4 separate regions of the Homo sapiens genome follow, and regions 1, 3 and 4 are each linked to region 2. Evidence: promoter capture Hi-C in 16 types of primary human blood cells and fetal thymus (Javierre and others, 2016). All regions are on one chromosome and are shown on one strand. The core of a region is centred on a gene start or on the middle of the fragment in contact, and the rest is flanking DNA. Distances in the headings are between cores, read along the strand shown.

Region 1 (3,224 bases), core at 349-2,848, 280 kb after region 2:
TCTCGAACTCCTGACCTCATGATCTGCCTGCCTCTGCCTCCCAGAGTGCTGGGATTACAGACATGAGCCACCACACCAGGCCTATATTTTTTGATTAAAAGAATGTATGAGGCCAGGTACGGTGGCTCATGCCTGTAATCCCAGCACTTTGGGATACCAAGGTGGGTGGATCACTTGAGGTCAGGAGTTTGAGACCAGCATGGCCAACATAGTGAAACTCTGTCTCTACTAAAAATACAAAAAATTAGTTGGGCATGTGGTGCATGCCAGTAGTCCCAGTTACTTGGGAGGGTGAGGCAGGAGAATCACTTGAACCTGGGAGGTGCAGGTTGCAGGTTTCAGTCAGCCAAGATGGACCACTGCACTCCAGCCTGGGAGACAGAGCAAGACTTTGTCTCAAAAAAAAAAAAAAAAAGCTTTCTGTACATTGCTTAGAGGGTGAGGCTGTTGACTGTGGATTTTACCATTAGATGATCAGAAAGAAAACCCCTAGTGTCTGTAACTATGGATCTTTTCTTTTGGGCAACTCAGAAAATTAAACTCTCCTATCCTGGTGTAAGGTATAAGGTATGGATGCAGCTTCCCCCCTCCCCAGATTGCTGTTAAATAGAGATGCTGTTTATTAAGTATAGTTCACATTTTGCTTATTGGTATAAGATCCCATCTTTATTACTGAACTCTTATATTGAGGGGAGGGAATCTCTTTCTAGATTGTATATGCTTTCGCATGGGTCTCTGTCTGCCAGTACCACACTGTTTTAATTATTAGTTCTTGATAGTATGTTTTATTACCTGGTTTATTACTCTTGATTGCTCTACTTTTTCAGAATGTATAAAAAACATTTGGACATTTGACACTTAGAGGAAATAAGGCCCTTTCCCAGAGTAACTCAGATAATAAGTGGCAGAACTGTCATTGGAACCTCTCTCATAATCACCACCTTTCATTGACTGAAATGCCTTTGTTAAAATATCTACTTATCTCCTTTGGAAAAAAATTCAGAGGAAGAGATATTTCTTCCTCTTTCAAATGCCTCAAAACTCAAATTTCCTTTGGGAACCCCTGAGGACCTAGGTCATGTGTCCACTGAGGCTCATGGCCAACTCTCTAGGAATAGCTGGAAGGTGGAGAAACATAGCGGGAAAGAGAGCTCATGTCTCCACATCCAATGAGCAAAGCTAGTAGCAGAGTCTGCTGATACTTTACTTTTTAGTGTATATTTCAGGAAGTGTTCTTACAGGCATGTTCCTTTTCTAGTGGGGTCACAAATACCAAATAGTTATGTCTTCTTAAAAAGTCATTAATTTTCAGAAAATTTGTCTAAACCTAGTAATAAAAATATATCACTTTTATTTCAATTTCTATATATTTAACTATGAGGTCAAGTATCTTACCCTCTGTTTTTATTCATTACATAGACTTCTTCTGTGACAAGCACATCAATGTCCTTTGTTACTCTTTCTTAGTGTGTGCCTATAAAAATCTTATTAATTTGTAAGTACTCATTATATGTAAGCAATATTTAAAATTTTTTTCTATGTGTTGAAAATATTTTTTTCCCGGTTTGTTGTTGACTTTGGTTTATTGTGTCTTTTCCATGTGAAAATGGAAAGACTTTCATGGATTAACATTTACTAATATTTATCTTTATAAGTCTTAGTTTTGGTATGAGAGATACAGTATGCGTGTATAAATAGGAATTCAATTTTGTCTCTAATTTTTAATGAAGTAGCATAACATAATATGCTAGGTGTATTTTTTTAAATTTAGATCTCTCTCAAAATACTTGTTATACACCATATCAGTTAAAGTACTTAGAAACTGCTCATCATATTTCACTTTAGTTCTTTCCTTGAATGTATACCTAGGTGAATTCTGGCAGAGATAAATTTGGGGCAGAGCCTAGGATCTAAAGAATGTGAAAAAAGTTCCCTATGTCCGAAGGGAAAATCAGCAAAAGGTAAAAGCAAACAAAAAAATGAAGTGTAGGAATAGAGGATTTAAAATGTTATCCTCTTTTGCTTTCTCAGATGGCCTTGTTTGTGTGAAGCACAAAAGCAGCCCCTGTGTGTGACTAATGAATCTTCCAAGGCATTCTGGGGACTGTGTTGTCAGCCCTTTTAATGGCCTATTAAGCACAGGATTGAATAGATTAAGCATGCAGCCGTCCAAATTAGACCTTGAGTAATCTGACTGACCATGTTAGGCCTTGTGTGACACAGCATCCCTTAGGCTGATGTTAAGGACTCAGACAAGGTGAGAAAAGTCTGTGCTCTAGAAACACAGTCCTTCCCAGGACAAAATAAGCCAACAAATATGGAAGGCAAAGTTTAGTTGGATGGAGAGTGTCATAGAACAAGTACTTCACTCAAAGCTCAATTCTGCTTGTTAATAACAATGTGACCTTGGACAAGTTATTTTTCTTTTCTTTTTTTTCTTTTTTTTTTTGAGACAGAGTTTCACTCTTTCACCCAGGCTGGATTGCAATGGCACAATCTTGGTTCACTGCAACCTCTGCCTCCCGGGTTCAAGTGATTCATAAATTACCCAGACTCAGGTAGTTCCTTTCAGCAATGAGAGAATGGACTAATACAGGCTCCTTCATGAGCTTCTCTTCCTGTCTCCTTTTCATGTTTCATAATCTCGAGGCCTCGCCATTCTCTTATCCATTCAAAATTACTTTTGAGTGCTTACTTTGTGTAAGACACTATGCCATGGGCTACTAGACTAGTACACTGTTGAATAAAACATGTGTTTTGCTCTTAAAAAAAAAGCTTATAGGTTAATTAGAGAGAAGATAATAAAAGTTAATATTTATTGGGCAATTATTCTGTGCTAGATGCTTAATTCTCATTAATTCCCACAGCTACTCTGAGGGCTACATTCTCTCTTTATCCCCATTTTACAGGTGAGACAAAGTCAGGCAACATGTCCAAAGTCACATAACCTGCAAGTGTCTGAGCAAAGATTCAAACCCAAATATCTATGAATTCAGAGCCCAAGTTTTTTAATCAGACTTAAACACTATGCTATATTAAAAAGTAATTATACTGTGGTATAATATAACTAGAATGTGGTGAATGACATATGAAGTACGAACAGATTTGCATGGACATTTAGAGGAAGGAGTGGCCACTTTTGGCTGCAAGAATCAGAGAAGACATGGTGTAGGAGAGATTGGAGATGTATCTTTAAAAGCCATATTAGTCTATGCTCTGCCAAG
Region 2 (3,216 bases), core at 653-3,152:
CCTTCTCCAGGAAGGGTCAAGGCCAGGAAGAGAGGTGGACAGGTCTCAGAAAGCAGGCAGTGTCAAATGCTGAGCAAAAGCCAAGCTCAGAAGGAGGAAATGTGGTGTTTATGGAACCAACTTGCAAATGCAAACATGAGCAAACCAAAGCAATGTAACAAATGATCCTCAACAGCTGGGTTTCTTCAATGCTGAAACTTGTAATAAACATCCATGGCTATCTTTGGAACACGATTTGTCTGTAAACATACATACATCTATTTACTAGAACCACAAGGATTAGTTAACAAAAAAATTACCTAAGAACCATCAACTTTCACTTCTCCAATTGGGTCACAATCTACAAGTTAATCTGCTAGGAAAAAAAAAAAATAACATTCCTCTCTAACTGTGGTGGGAATCAGTAATCATAGGATTCCCAGGAAGATTCTGAAAAGCCCTTGGATATTGAAGGATTTGGGTTGCAGTTTTCTCAATCTGTTAGATGTTGAGGGGGGGCGGAGGAAATACACCTTTTTTTTTTCCCCACAATCCTAAAAGTTTATGAACTTTCAGAGAGACACAGGAGCCAACCTGAAAGAGTTCCCAGTGGTCAAAGCTGGAACCATTTGAGCAACAAAATTAATAATGTAGTATTGAATTCTAGCCCAAAGTATAAAATAAATATACATGGGTCCATACTGACATAACAAATACTGACATAAATGATTGAATAAACAAGAGAGATGGAACAAATCTTCCTTACAGAATCATTCTAAATAATAACATATAGATACTCCCTGCTCTGGGATGGAGTTTAATCTTGCCCTCATCTTGAGTGTCAGCTGAATTGAGTCATGCCATTCATGCCATTCAGAGTAGAGTGTATGGAAAGAGAAAAACAGCTTTGCAGTAGAGAAACCTGGCAGACACAACCTTAACTATGGGATCAAGGTCAAGTCACCAGTGATAAGTCACCTGGCCATCGTGCCATCGTCCCTGAGAGGATGCAGTGGGGAAGGCACTTCATCTCTGAGTCTTTCCTCCCCCCAGTCTCATCATGAGAAAAAAACAGTAGACAATACCCACATGAGTGGGTGTCGAGGTACCCCCACAAAACTATACCTTACCAGAATACTTCATCACAATACTTTACTAGAATTCTTTACAGCTGTCAAAGTCAAGAAAAGACAGAGAAACTGTCATGGATTAGAGGAGACAAAGGGCACAGGATGCTAAATGCAGTGTGGTATCCTGGCTGGGATCCTGAAAGGGAAAGGCGTTAGCCAAAAAGCTAGTGACAGCTACATCAAGTCTGGAGTAGTGTTAATAGTGGCAGATCAATGTTAATGTCTTTTAAAAAATATTTTTAGTAGAAATGAGGTCTCGCTATGTTGCCCAGGCTGGTCTCGAACTCCTGAGCTCAAGCGATCCTCCCGCCTGCCTTGGCCTCTCAAAATGCTGAGATTACCAAGGCGTGAGCCACCGCACCTGGCCCAATGTGAATTTCTTAGTTTTGACAAATGTGCCACAGTTATGGAAGCTGTAGGCATTAGGAGACACCGACTGAGGGGTATATAGACGACTCTCTCTACTATCTTTGCAACTTTTTTTAAGTTCCAAAAGAAAGTTTTTTAAAAAAACAACAAAATTGCACTTGTACTCCATAAATTTATACTAAAAACAATAAAATCAAAAATTATTTAAAAAACAAAAACAAAAGTTTATAAACTTAGGGTGCAAATAGAACCTTCTTGAAAAGCAGCGGCCGATCCCCTCCCCCCACCCGCCTGTACAGCACCCTAGCGAGGGGCGTGAGGGGCAGAGCCTGGCTCTCCAGCGCTGGGCGTACGCGTCCTGCCGCGACTCCTCCCCGGGGCCTCACCGGCGCCGGACTCTGCCCTGGGCGCGCCCCGCGGGGCGGAGCCAAGCCTGCGGGCGGTGGCGGCTGCACTCGCAGGGCCCTGGCAGCCGACCCTGGCCCCAAGGTCCGATCGCCCAGGGGAGGAGCAGCACCGGGACCCCGCGTCGGCTGGGCGCCCCACAAGGTAGGCGAGTCTGGCCACCTTCGGGCCCGGTCCCTGCGGCGCGCCCCCGCATCCCCTCCATGTGTGTGGGTGTCCAGGTGCCTTTCCAGCGGCTTCCCCAGTGGAGTTCCTGGCATCAAGGACATTTCCTGTAAAAGGGTCCTTGTTGAAGAGGTAATCCTCCCTGGAAACCTCGGTTCTGGGCTCGAATTTCCTGGGCGAGAAGTTTCTTCCCCATTGGGAAGAGCTGCTTTTCCGCAGAGAGGAACCCCTACTTAGTCCGGCGCACACCTGATTATTTATTTAGGTTGTTGTTATACAATCCGTTTGTCAGGGGTCCCCGCGATTTCTGCCTGCTAATTTCAGAGGCTATGGAGAAAAGTCCTGCGGTAAACGCCCTGACCTAGGAACTCCAGCGTGGTGGCTTTGACAGGTCACTGCGCTCGCATTTTTTAAAGAGCAGAGATGAATGAAGGTGGCTGTCTTCATTCATTTGTGCGGGCTTCTGCAGCCGCAGGTGTAGTAAAAAGAGCAGCCCATTGCTTGACCTTTTCCTTAATGTTGAGTAGCATCATGATATTTTAGATGTGGAAGTTACAGAGTGCTAGGCGGCTAGACAAAGGAACACTCTTATCTTACTGAAGGTTAGTACGGGACCGTGCAAGTGTAGTTTTTAGATTGGATGATAACATAGCTGTGAATTTTCAGCCTTTTTGGAAGTGAAGACAAAATTGAATATAAGGATCAGAACAAGCAACAAGCCCTGAACATAACTGAAGGTGTACCTGCTCCCCATTATATTCTGATTGTTTTATTTTAGGAATCAAAACCTCTTTTACTTTCTTGGTGTATATAGTTCGGATGAAGTGTCAGAATACAAAAAGGAATTATTCTGTGTTTGTGATAGGGAGGAGATAATCTGTTCTTTTGATTTTACCTAATGCCATTAAATATTCAGAGCTACTGAAGTCTGGTTTTCCTGATATGTGAGCTGGGCAGGAGTGTCAGGTACCCTGGCAGACACAATTGGTGCTGTTGTTATGCTTTTCCCCCGCTGCCCACTCTCTTCCCCACCCCACTCCCAATTTGAGAGGGAAGGCCCCTGACACAGAGGAATTTCTGCCCAAGGCAGGGAGTATCCCCGTGTGGTTCCTCAAATGTTTGCAGAAAGAATGAAAACAACTACACTTCTTGGGACCCAGGCCAACGT
Region 3 (3,022 bases), core at 149-2,648, 270 kb after region 2:
AATTTAAAATCAGTAGAAAAATGACAGACTAAGGAATAGTGTGGGTACAATTGGCTATCCATTTAGGGAAAAGATATCAGATATCTATGTCATACCAGGCACAAAAATAAATCCAAATAGATTAAGTAAATAAAAACCTAGAAATGAATACAAAGAAACTATAATGGATTATCTTTATAATCTAAAGAGTTTTTCTAAGCAATACACTAAACACAGAAACTGTAAGATTGATAAATAAAAATTTTAAATACATACAAATTTAAATGAAAACTATAAATCAGAGCAAAGATTGACCTCCATAATTAATACAGAACAGTATCAAATTAAAGAAAGTAAAAACAGGTCACCTAATAGAAAAATGGTCAAATTACATGAACAGCAAATTTTCAAAAGAGGAGGTAATAAGATAAATTAAAAGATGCTCAACCTCATTATAAATCTGGGCCATTCTAACTGAAATGAACTAAAATCATGTTTTGTGTATCACACTGTCCAAAATTCAAAAGATTAATTACATTTTTAAGTAACAAGAGAGTGAGATTAATTATGTTTTTAAGTAACAAGAGAATGGGGATACTCACTCTCATACTTTATTTGTGGCACCCTAGTGACACTCCAGAAGGTTTCTCCTGTTTCCTTCCAAAGAGAAACACTCTCCACCCCTCCCCACTACGGGAGGTAATCATTATCCTGACACCTACAACTAATATTATTTTTGCCTATGTTGTTATTTTATATAAAAGGAATCATATACTGTAATTTTTTTGTACCTGGCTCCTTTGCTCAATATTATGATTTTGAGTCACTATTATTGCAGTTTCAGATTTTTCAGTCTCATTGCTTTCTACTAGATGTGCATACCAGAATGTATTGTCCACTCTATTGTTGATGGTCATTTGGGTAGAGCTGCACTGATCACTCTTCTACGTCTTTTGGTGAGTGAACATAGGTATACGTTTCTGCTAGGGAAACACCCAGAAGTGGACCTACTGGCTACAAGCTTTTCATGTATTCTTCTTGAGAAAGATGTTGCCAAGCATGTTTCAAAAGTGGTTTTTGTCAATTTCCACTTCTACTTGTGGTGGATGGAGTTCAGTTTACTCTACATTCTTGCTGACACTCGGTATTATCTGCCTTTTTCCTTTGCCCGTTTTGGTGGTTACTTGATGGCATCCTGTGGTTTAGCTTGCATTTAAAAAAAATAACTAATAAAGTTGAGCACCTTTTTACAGATTTAAAGGACATTTAAATATCCTCTTTTATGGAGTATCTGTTCAAGTCTTTTGTCCATGTTTCTATCAGGGTTTTTTGTTTTTATTTATATTTTTTCAAATATATATATACATACACATATATATTATATATTATATATACCTATATATTATAAGCAATATATAAACATATCAACATATATATATATATATAAAAATCTGCTTTCATTTTTTGGGTTGCTTTTCCTAACTTTTTAAAGATATTGTTTGGAGAAGTTTTTTTATTTTAATGTAATTCATTTATCTTTTTTTCTTTCATGCTTAATGCTTTTGGTGCCCTGATTAAGAAACCTGTCGACTCCAAGGTGACAAAGATGTTCTATGATGTTTTGTCTTATCTAATCTTTGAAAAGCAATACAAATATAAAAGATTAGTAAAATGTCAGATGTAGTAAAATGGTAAAAACACCAGAAAATGAGAACATTAACCATCTATAAAATTTCATCAGGAAAGTCAGTGCTTTCTTACGACATGATATTACCAGGAGGAGATTTATCACTCCCAGCTAACATTATAAAGCTTAATTCCACTTCAACATTTATAAATGAAATCCATCATCACTTGACTATAAGACTGATAACTACAGTGAATAGGCATACACAGAAGGCATAGGTGAATGCATTGGAAAAATAATAGCTTAGAGTATCTTCAGATTAGCATTCATTATCCTGACAACTAAAGAAAGAGACATGCCCATCACTGTACAGAATACAAAAACAGGACTTAAAAGATACAATCTGCCTTCAGTGTTAAATTGAAAATGGTTATTGGATTTAGCCAGCACAAACTGGAAAGCTCATTCTCTATCTTACTTTAAATGCTCTTTATTTTCTCTCTTTAAAAAATAAATTTCCTTTTCCTCATTTTCTTGCATTAGCAAAAGGAATATGCTAAAGATGAACTTTACTGAATGAAATCAAGGTTGTTTTTTTTCTTGTTCTCTTCGTTCTTTTCTTCCTAATACTTCGTGATATTTTTGTTTAGAGTTTCACAGATTTATAGAGCTCAAAGAGATTGTAAAATTTTACCCTATCCATCCTTCAAAAACATCTAAGCCATATGAAAACCAACCCTGTCGGTATGACAATTTGCCAAGCCTTCAGCTATAGGGAACATAATCATCTGGTTCTGTTTTTATTTTGACTAAATAAAATGTGAAGACTATAAACAGTACTTAAAAATCACTGAAATAAACTAGGAAAATTGATTCATTCTATGTCAGTTTTTTTAATAATTCTTTTTACTACTCAATGTATTAAATTATGATTGTAAAGTGTTAAAAGATTAAATATGTTTAGTGTCTTAATGAAGAAAGTGGGTTACATTATTCTCCTAAGGGTTTGGAAAGAAATTATATTGAGTTGCTTGATTTCCTATGTATAATATTTCTTGTATTTATCTTCCTTTTTTAAAAAAAAAACACTTTTCCACTTATTTGCTATTGAAATAGCTCCTAACTATTCTTTCCTTTAGTCTCCTAAACCTCCAATCTACCCTATGTATTTTCAACTTCCTCTTAATGTACCCATTTTTTGTGTTGTTTCCTTTTGCTCATTAACCATCAGTGGCTCCCCATTATTGGGGAGCTAAAACTTTAAATGTCACAATCTGGCATCTAAGGTCTTTTAAAAAATGGTGTGAACCTACTTTCCTAACCAATGCTTATAACATTCCTTTACACAAAACCTAATGACTACTGGTCTTCAAACATCACAAACATAAATATTCCCACTTTGCACCTGTATTCAAA
Region 4 (2,846 bases), core at 302-2,801, 410 kb after region 2:
AAGGCATCCCAGAGTTAATCTGAAAAACTAGTTCAGGCCATGATGGGAAGGGGAGCAGCTAGACATGCCTCATTATAACCTCCTTCCTTTTGGAATGACTGAGAAGAGACTCTTTAAGTCATAAGAAACATTTACTCTCTGAAGCCTACTATCTGGAGGCTTTATCTACATGATAAATTCTTGGTCTCCACAATCCCTTATCACAACCCATGCATTCCTTTCTTTATTTTTCTTTTGAGACAGTGTCTTGCTCTGTTGCCCAGGCCGGAGTGCAGTGGTGCGATCTTGGCTCACTGCCACCTCTGCTCCTGGGTGCAAGGATTCTTCTGCCTCAGCCTCTTGAGTAGCTGGGATTTACAGGCCCCAGACCTTGTTATTCATAATAATTCTTTCAACAAATTGCCAATCAGAAAATCCTTCAATCTACCTGTGATCTGGAAGCCCCTGCTTTGAGTTGTCCAGCCCTTCTGGACCAAACCAATATACATCTTACATATGTTTATGGATGTCTCATGTCTCTCTAAAATGTATAAAACCAAGCTCTACCCTCATCACCTTGGGCACATGTCATCACGACCTCCTGAGGCTGTGTCACAAGCTCATCCTTAATCTTGGCAAAATAAACTTTCTAAACTGATTGAGACCTGTCTCAGATACTTTTGGTTTACAAATTGGCAACCTCAAAGGGATTCTGAGCAGAGGTGCTCCTGACCTTTGACAAATTTCCTGTCAGTGCCTGGCACCAGCTTGAGCTATCTTTATTGCTCAAAACAACAGGACAATTTTCTGGAGCCTGGGAGCTCCCTTCTCCATAGAATCCCCAATCTCCCAAAATCTGGTTGAGATTTAAAGTTTATTTAGCTGTACAGCTCCTTTTCTGGAGTTTTACTCACTTCCAACAAGGAAGGCGCTTGTTCCTGCTTCCATGGCAATAGAGAGGAGGCAACTGCTTTCTGGAGTTTCAGCTCACTTCCAATAGGGAAGGTGAATTTGAGGGTTTTTTTCCCCCCTGCTGCTAGGATGGTAGATAGCAGTCTTGAACCTGGGCCCCATTCCTGGGTAAGTAGCTGAATTGGGATTTTGTCTTGAAAATTCTCCTAAATAACTAAAAGTTAAAATTGACAACCAACTGCTCTTAATTTCTCCTTAACATTAGAGCACTAAGTAATCATTGTTTGTTTTTTTGTTTTGCTTGCTGTTGTTCTGGTCTTCCTTTGGATTTGACTGGCTCTACCCAACTTGGTCAAATCTGATTAGGAATTCCAAATTATGGAGAACAAGGCCTTTGAATTGGCTAAAATTCCTTGCAACTGAAAAATAAAAACATCCAGTTGGTTTCTCTGTTCACTTCCTTTCTTGAAAAAAAATTGTTCTTTCATTTACTTTTCTTCTGCCCTATTCCTCCTTCACTCTTGGCCATCTTCAGTATCAAGTGAAAAAAAAAATCTAGATAAGGCTTCTAATGACTCAGGTTCCTTAAAGAACTCAGAATAGGCTGGGCGTGGTGGCTCACGCCTGTAATCCCAACACTTTGGGAGGCCGAGGCAGGTGGATCACAAGGTCAGGAGATTGAGACCGTCCTGGCTAACACAGTGAAACCCCATCTCTACTAAAAATACAAAAAATTAGCCAGGCATGGTGGCGGGTACCTGTATTCCCAGCTAAACGGGAAGCTGAGGCAGGAGAACAGCGCGAACCCAGGAGGCACAGCTTGCAGTGAGCCGAGATAGCACCACTGCACTCTAGCCTGGGCAAATGAGTGAGACTCCATATCAAAAAAAAAAAGGAGAACTCAGAATAAAGGTGCCGCTCACCCCTTTGGGGCATGTTCAGTTTTCTTTGTGGAGTTTCAAGAGTCATGGGCAGATTCTTCTTAGGTCTACAGCCCTGCTTTCTTGTATTGCATTAACTGACCTCTTTGGCTTTGTGGGGGTATCAGAGGCTACCTCGTATTGTGAGAAGATTTGACCTTGGTGTGTGTAAAGGAGGACAAGAACTACAACATTAGGGGTGGCTGAGGACAGTTTATAGAAAGTGGTCTTAGCTGGGTTTTTTCCCTCCTAAGAAATTGTTGTTGAAAATCCTAAGTCGAGTTTGGTGGTGCATTCTAAAGGGTCTTCTCCATTGCCTTGTCTCTCAAAATTAATCTCGATTGGTATGTCTGTACATTTGTGTGAGGAACTGAACTGTCATTCTTGTAGATACATGAGAAACTGAGTTCCTCAGCTCTAAAGAGAAAGGGGCTTTTGCTCCTCCCAGCCAAAAGGTGCCCCTGGGTGACCAAGTGGGCCCGAGTGGGATTGTCCAGGGAGCTGACCTCCCTGCAAAGTGCAGTGGCCCTACAGGGAAACTCCACCAAAATTAAAAAGGCTTGTCCAGGAAGCACATATAAGAGCTGGTCACTCTATACTTAGAACCTCTTAAAGGTGCTAGCCCTTCGGAGAGAGAAAGAGGGAAGAAATGACACAATAGTGACACACTGTGGAGTTCTACTCAATCAGCACACTTCTCTCCACTACACTAAACCCTAGGCTACAGCTCAGTTTCTCCTTGTAAGAAAAAAATGTGGGAAACATACCATCTCAGAATGAGGAAAGACAAGGAGAAGGACCCCCTTTTGGGCACCTCATTGGTTTTATGGAGCTTCTACTTGCAAGTATTTGTGTAAAATGGAAAAGGTTGAGGGCATGCCAGGTTCTGTAGTACTCCAGCTGGTTGCATATTATGGTCATTTTGTGCACATTTTAAACTGATGGACAAATTACATCAAGGAAAAATTCAGAGCCCAGGGGTTGACCTGCAACTAAAGAGTTCCTAAGTTGTCTATTTCTTTATTTTCTTTTCTG

Evidence for each region. The method cuts DNA at HindIII sites, captures the fragments that hold promoters and counts their contacts. A CHiCAGO score of 5 or more calls a contact.
Region 1: a contact is called between a fragment that was not itself captured here and the fragment with the promoter of CCDC68 in region 2, in 7 of 17 cell types (megakaryocytes, erythroblasts, total CD4 T cells and 4 more). The highest score is 11.7, in megakaryocytes.
Region 3: a contact is called between a fragment that was not itself captured here and the fragment with the promoter of CCDC68 in region 2, in 2 of 17 cell types (megakaryocytes and erythroblasts). The highest score is 8.9, in megakaryocytes.
Region 4: a contact is called between a fragment that was not itself captured here and the fragment with the promoter of CCDC68 in region 2, in 4 of 17 cell types (erythroblasts, activated CD4 T cells, total CD4 T cells and 1 more). The highest score is 6.7, in erythroblasts.

Annotation. Positions count from the first base shown.
Region 1 is chr18:54,674,209-54,677,432 of GRCh38, reverse strand. No RefSeq gene overlaps it. Among named protein-coding and RNA genes, the nearest start is that of DYNAP, 85 kb to the right of the region's middle. The HindIII fragment of the contact is 2,359 bases long and covers 419-2,777 here.
Region 2 is chr18:54,958,147-54,961,362 of GRCh38, reverse strand. CCDC68 (coiled-coil domain containing 68) reads left to right here and starts at 1,902. Exons shown (of 12, transcript NM_025214.3): 1 at 1,902-2,027. The HindIII fragment of the contact is 7,607 bases long and covers 1-3,216 here.
Region 3 is chr18:54,691,578-54,694,599 of GRCh38, reverse strand. No RefSeq gene overlaps it. Among named protein-coding and RNA genes, the nearest start is that of DYNAP, 100 kb to the right of the region's middle. The HindIII fragment of the contact is 791 bases long and covers 1,003-1,793 here.
Region 4 is chr18:54,552,896-54,555,741 of GRCh38, reverse strand. No RefSeq gene overlaps it. Among named protein-coding and RNA genes, the nearest start is that of DYNAP, 37 kb to the left of the region's middle. The HindIII fragment of the contact is 5,208 bases long and covers 1-2,846 here.